Linked DNA regions of Homo sapiens: region 2 is linked to region 1. The links are contacts of gene promoters, found by promoter capture Hi-C in blood cells and fetal thymus (Javierre and others, 2016). All regions are on one chromosome and are shown on one strand. Each heading gives the region's core, a stretch centred on a gene start or on the middle of the fragment in contact. The rest is flanking DNA. Distances are from core to core; before and after follow the strand shown.

Region 1 (3,423 bases), core at 257-2,756:
GCCACAAGTGAAAATTCCACACCTGACACCTTTGCTTTCTGATAGTTCAACGTATACAAACTTTAATTCATGTACAAATTATTAAAAATATTGTATACAATTACCTTCAAGCTAAGGTTATGTGTATAAGGTGTATAAGAAACACAAATGAGTTTGTGTTTAGATTTGGGTACCATCCGTAAAATATCTCATTATGTATATGCAAATACTCCCAAATCCAAAAAAAAAACAAAAAACAAAAAACACCAAATAACACCCGTTCCCAAGCATTTCAAATGAAGGATACTCAACTTGTAATGTATAGATTCAGAAACACGAGCTAGAGAACACTATAGGTATTGTTTTACTGCCAGGAAAAGGAGCCCAAGAGAGGCTAAGTGACTTGAAGGGCTACACAGCCAGTGGACGACGGAGCCAAGAGTGAAATTCACAACCCAGCTTTTTAGTCCTGGAGGCTTTTCCACACCACCTGTTGTCTCTTCTGTTATAGCTTCTATCCACTGAACTTTGCACATTCAAAGTGACCTCAAAGAGCCCTCTCAGGTCACTTGGACCAATCTTCTACTTGCTTTTTTTTTTGTCTTTTTGCAAGCCACCTCAAAGAGCACTCTCGGGTCACGTGGACTGATCTTCTACATAAAAATCTGTTCTACCGCATCATTTATGTATGTTTGGGCAAAGTACTCATAACCATTTCCAAGGCCAATAAAGCAAATGCTTTGCAGGATGCCGTAATAAAAATAAAACTTTCTTTGCAGTATGTACAAAGTCAGACTGCTTTACAAGTCAAAAACCTTTGCTCAAGTCCAGCCTGTGCCATTTAACAGGATCGAAAAAAGAGCTAGAGTTGGATGGGAAGGAAGAGAGAGTGGTTTGGTGAAGGAACCTTGGTTCTGACACTAGCTCTCTGCCGACCTTGGACTGGTCATGTGAAAAACTCTTCAGACTTCAATACCCCCCGAGTGTGGAAAAGGGGTGACGACAGCAACACCCTGAGTCTTCCCCTCGCAGGAATGCTTTGAAACTGTTAGGCGGGACTGCCGCCGGTGCGCAGTTTTGGGAAGCAGCGGACTCAGCGGGGTCCCAGGCTGCCCAGACAGGACGGATTGCTGGGGGGCTCAGGCCGTCCTGCCCCGGGCTCCGTGGGCGGCGGGGTGGGGACAGGGCGTGGGCGCGTCCCGGGGGGACCTCTCCTCTGGCTTCCTCCGCCCCGCCCCGGGAGACCGGGTGCGGCCCGAGCGGGTCACTCACCGGGCCAGGAGCTCTAGGAAGATCACGTTACTGCAGCAGCCTGCGAACACCAGGCCCACCGCCAAGGCCGGGCGCATGGCCGGTGCAGGGTTGGGGAAGCAAGCGCACAGAGTAAGCGCCCGCCTGTACCGCTACCCCAGGAAGCCGGCCTCCTGCCTCTTCGCTGCGCAGCACATCGCACCGTCCTGGAAAGCCGCTCTCACTGGGGGCCGCCGCGGTCTCCCCTTCTCCCGCGGCCAACACCGACGCTGCCAAGAAGCTGTAGTTCGCAGTCAGCTTCGGTCCCATTCATCCGAGGGGGCGTCCGAGCCCCGGCCAGACTACATGTCCCAGGATGCCGTGCACCTTTACCTCAGGATGCGACGTTCCCGCTTCCGCCAGGCAGCTCCGCCAGAGAGGACAGGGGGACGAGGTGCCCGGCATGACTCGCGCGATAGGCGGCCGCGGGTCTTGCTGGGAAATGAAGTCCCAAAGCGTCAGTGTTTCTTGCGAGACCGCCCAGAGCGCTGAAAGTAACTCGGCCGCCAGGGTCACAACAAACTTGCTGGCAGCGGCGGCACTAGAACTACAGAGCTGTGACTGCTCGTTGGAGGTGTTCTAGCATCTGAAACAACTCTGCTTCCTGAACTGATATATATATATGTATCTTTGGTGACTCTATTATGCTGCCAGGATTAAGAACCACTGAGAATTCAAGTAAAGCAATGGCTCTCAACCACGTCTGTACATTGGAATCACTTGGAGAGCTTTAAAGATGACTGATAGCCAAGTCCCACCCCCAGCGATTCTGATTTAATTAGGCTGAGGTGCAGCCTTAAAGGTGATCTATTGATATTATCCCTAATCCTAGCTCTTTAAGGTACTCCCTTCCTTTACCTCCGTGGTTCTCAAACTTAGCTGCGCAGTCAAATCACCTGGGGGCTTTGAAAACTGCCAACGTCCAGGCTCTTCTACTGGCAAAAATGCCAATATCAGCAATCAGATCTTTAATGGTGAAAAGAAGGCATACTTCCCTCTTCTTACAGTGGAATTCTCATAGCACTTACAATCTGAGCCATTCGACTTGACTCTTACTTACTCAATGAACAAATGTTTGTTAAGCACATATTACGTACATAAGCTAGTGCGGCACTATTCTTTATTTGTAAAATAGGTATGCACACTTTATCCACCCAGCAAGACTAGTTTTTAAGGGAAACGTGTTTACACTTCCTTTCTGCTTCCCAGTGTCTACTATAAAAGGTTAGCATCACTGCTCAGTATTTTACCACATCAAATATTTCCGTTGTAATTGAATCCAACAGCAATAGCAAAGTACACGGTACAAAGCTAGGTAGGATTTTGGAATGCTATATTGTTTTTGCTATTTCCTGTGAGACACGAACATTCTGAAGTCTTTCTCGAGATCTACAAAATAGTTTGGAATGCTTTTTTCCCAGTCCGTGACTGGGAGATCACATTGGAATCATCTGAAGTACTCGTTATCGAGTGCAGATTATTGGGTCTCGCTTTAGACCTACCAAGTCAAAATCCTTGTGTATGGGTTCTAGAAACTTGTATTTTTAACAAGCACTCCACGTTCTAATTCTAATGCATTCTAGAATTTGAGAACTGCTGCCTTAAAAAGGTGAGTAGGAAGAAGAACTAACATAAATAGAAAGCCTACTACCTGTGAAATTCAGTATTTAATGAGCACCCGTCTTGAGTTTGCACAGTGCTGGCACATTAAACAATGAATTATATATACATATATACACGTATATATACCAGTTATATTCATATACACATATATACACACACACATATATATATATATATAACTGGTATATATACAGGTATATAATAGTACCAGTTCTACCTCAGACCAAGTAAAGTGGACTATCTGGGAGTGAGGCTGAAGCAATGATAATATCTCCACCTCCACTATCAATAATCCTGCCAACAGGAAGCTGGTCTGGATTTTCATCTGGATTTCATTAGAGGTGATTTCTCTTCACACAGACCTTCATTTTCCATATATGCCACTAATTTGGAAGCCCTTAAAGGATGTTCTAAACATTTCTCATTACATCTCAGATAAAAACCCAAGCATGTCTAAGTGATTGCACAAGAAAAAAATGGCCTGAGTACTGTAATATTTGCAAGAGTTCTGTATCTTTCTTCCTTCCTCCA
Region 2 (3,404 bases), core at 490-2,989, 1.2 Mb after region 1:
CCAGTTTTCTGCTTTTTACTGTAGATAACAATGACAGTGAGTTCCACCAAATGCATGTATGTGCACAGCTTTGTCATTCTTTTCCCAGCCCCCTTCTTTTCTATGAGAAAAATACGAGGAACTTAGGTTTATATAAAAATGTCGATTTTTCTTTTGCATACATAACTAATGGATTTTCAAGACAAGACAATTTATTCTGATAACTATCATCCTAGAAATGTCAAGAGAACTTCCCAAATCCAAAAATAAGAAGAAAATCTGATATTAACTGGAGAGGAAATTTCCACTCAAATCATAAATAAAATGTCATCAATTAAGCTGAACATCAATAAAACTCAGTCAAAAATCAAGCCTCAATACAGAACCCACACATAACCCACATGTAATCAAAATATCACTTATATTTGCTAGCGGAGTTCACAGATGAATTCTGTATGTGCGCCAGATTTATCTTATTTTGTAATGCTGGGGTTAATATTTATTGGTATAAATCAGGGCCCACACTAAGTGTCCTGGGGAGAGGCAATCCAAAGAACGCTTAGTAGCATGATAAAACCGGTCCAAAACGAAAAAAAAGAAAAAAAGCCAAGTCCTAACACAACAGAGCGAATAAGCGACAAATAGATCACAGAAAGCAAAACGAAAACGGTCCTCTCCGGAGTAGCCTGAATAAAAGATCTTCACTCATAACGTTTAATAGTATCCTACCTCACTTCATTCACTTCCCAACTTCCTTTTACTTTTCAAGGGCCACCACGGGGCTTCCCTTTTTCTGGAAGTGTATATTGAAAGGATCTGTACAGGAAAGAGGGAAGGAACGGACAATTCTCAAGAAGGCTGAGAAACAGGTGGGTTAGCAGGAGGAGCATAATCTAGATACTTAAGGGGCAGCTTTAAGATGACAGATGTGGTGGAAGGAAAGACTGCAAATCGGAAGCAGCTCTAGTGTGGCAGATACACTGTGGGCTGATTGCAAGCACCAGAGGGGGGCAAAGGCTAACTCCAGAGTGGTAGCAGTGGAGCAAAAAAACAAGCAGCAGGACGAGTGGGCAATGAGCAGTGGGATTAATGAGCAGCAGCAGCCAACACGGATCAGAGTGGAAGTGATGGCTTTGGTCTTGGGAGACGGGGGCCAGAGGGAAAGGACGTCAGACAGGGAACAGGGGATTGGGGAAACAAGGAGGGCTGAGACCTAAGAATCCTGCCCCGGTGAAAATGCAGGGGGAAAAGCTGGAGACCAAAAGCCGCCTCGGCTCCCCAATTAAAGAAATTCTCGAAGGAGAGTCGCTGCTTGCCGCCGCGCTGCCTTCTGACCCGCTCCCTTTTCCTTATGGTAACTGCTGTGGCGTAAAGGGGAGAGGGAGGAAGAGGAGGAGGAGGAAGAAGACCAAGGAGGAGGAGGGTGAAGATGAGGCGGGGGGTGGGGAGAAAGGGGGGTGCGGCCTGTACAGTCCCAGCGAAGCCTCCGCTCTCTCGTAGCCGGTCAGCCCCGGGTTTCCCCTAAGCCCAGCCCCGCATAGACTCACCCGCCTGCCTTGCCTCGCTTTTCCCTCAGCCGACTCCACGGGCTGCCGCGTCCTCACAAGAAACCACCGAACGAGCGTCGGGGAAAAAACTCTTCAGAACCGGGCCTGATTGCTTCAGCGAGTCCGACCTTTACGGCTGAGAGAGAGACTCTCAGCTTTCGGTGGGTTCCACAGCCAGACGGGCCACCATCTTACATTAGGGTAAGACTCCTCCGGCCTCCCGTGCGCAGGCGCACGCTGATCCGGCCAGGAGGGGCGGGGGAGGGGCGGGAGGAGCGGCGGGCGGCTGAGTGGGAGGTTGCGGTGGCCGCTCCCGCAGCACCCTGGGAGTTGAAGTCCTCGGAGGGTAACCTCCCAGGGGCACGCCGGGAGTTGAAGTCCTCTCTCAGAGGGCGGAGGGGATCGCCCACCTCACGTGGCTGCTGGACTGATGCCTTTCTTCGTGTTTTGCTTCCTTCTCTGCACGCGTGTGCTGCTTCAATGTCATTTGGTCGGCGGTTTTCACTAGTGATTCCGTGTCCTCGGTGTTTGCGGAAATGTGCTACCCCAAGACTGGGGCGAGGCTAAACAGTTTTTCGGGGAGCCCGGAATGTTTATTCTCTGCCCCGCCCACCAGGGATATCTAAAGGGGGCGGGGTGGAGGTGGAGGCAGGTTGTGGGTACGAAGAGCGCGGGATTTGATCCAGGGTGAGAATTTGATACAGACTTGGCGTCTGTTTGCGAACAAGGAGGAAACAGGCGCCTGTTTAATTCATTTCCCTGTCCTTGCGCATTTGGGGCCACCACCCTTGATCCCTTCTTCACTGTAAAATCACCAGTGAAGACATACACTAAATTGTTCTGTGCAGATTACCCAAGAGAACGGAACACCCGTGCACTTACAATAACGTGCTTCTGTTGGTGTGAATTTGAGAATTTGCGGACCTCGGTGCAAATTAGTGTTAGTTCGGTGTCCAGCCAGCACAGCTGTGTGCAAGTTTACAAACTACACACATCGGCACATCCCCAAGAACAATAAATGCAGCCACAATCCCTACGAGCACTGAGGAATCATCAGTCACAAAAGTCAGTCAATGTACTGGTCGCCCCGTTTGCATCCCAGAACTCTGGTGGAAGTGGCGCTCGAAGCAGTAACTTTTGCTTATTGCATGTATTCTTCACCCACTCATACAGCAAATACTCAATGAGCTCCTCCTAGCTGCCGGGTACTCTTCTATATATTGAGAATACAATGGTGAGCAAAATAGAAAAAATTCCCTGTCCCTATTCTAGTGATGTGTTGGGATGAGGAAGAGGAGAGAAGAGGCATTATTTTAAAAATACGTGATTAAAATGCATAGTATGTCATAACCGATTTTAAAAACTTAAAGCAGGGAAGGGGAGTAGGGAAAGAGGTTGCAGTTTTAAATTTACGAACTTAATTTCATAATAAGCCCTCAATTCATTGTTTTTTCTTTTTTTTTTTTTTTGAGACGGAGTCTAGCTCTGTCACCCAGGCTGGAGTGCAGTGGCGCGATCTCGGCTCACTGCGACCTCCGCCTGCCGGATTCAAGTGATTCTCCTGCCTCAGCCTCCCGAGTAGCTGGGATTACAGGCACGTGCCACCACGCCAGGCTAATTTTTATATTTTTAGTAGAGACAGGGTTTCACCATGTTGGTCAGCCTGGTCTCGAACTCCTGACCTCAGGTAATCTGCCTGCCTCGGCCTCCCAAAGTACTGGGATTACAGACGTGAGCCAGGGCACCCGGCCTCATTCTTTTGGTACATTGGTTTTCTGTGTTTCAGTTTCCTCACTATAAACCTAGAGACAACAGTTACTTGGGTAAAAATTAAAATATGTAGTGAAGTCACATTTTACCCAAAGTTTGAAATTATAG

What was found. The method cuts DNA at HindIII sites, captures the fragments that hold promoters and counts their contacts. A CHiCAGO score of 5 or more calls a contact.
Region 2: the fragment with the promoter of CNOT4 here is called in contact with the fragment with the promoter of SLC35B4 in region 1 in 1 of 17 cell types (non-activated CD4 T cells); the score reaches 7.3 in non-activated CD4 T cells.

Annotation. Positions count from the first base shown.
Region 1 is chr7:134,315,424-134,318,846 of GRCh38, forward strand. It overlaps SLC35B4 (solute carrier family 35 member B4), which reads right to left and starts at 1,507. Exons shown (of 10, transcript NM_032826.5): 1 at 1,252-1,507. The coding sequence starts at 1,328. RefSeq lists a silencer at 1,048-1,217 and an enhancer at 1,298-2,027. The HindIII fragment of the contact is 10,331 bases long and covers 1-3,423 here.
Region 2 is chr7:135,508,363-135,511,766 of GRCh38, forward strand. It overlaps CNOT4 (CCR4-NOT transcription complex subunit 4), which reads right to left and starts at 1,740. Exons shown (of 12, transcript NM_001190850.2): 1 at 1,527-1,740. RefSeq lists enhancers at 810-1,715, 1,486-1,685, 1,716-2,620, 1,996-2,115, 2,266-2,435 and a silencer at 1,686-1,925. The HindIII fragment of the contact is 7,472 bases long and covers 1-3,404 here.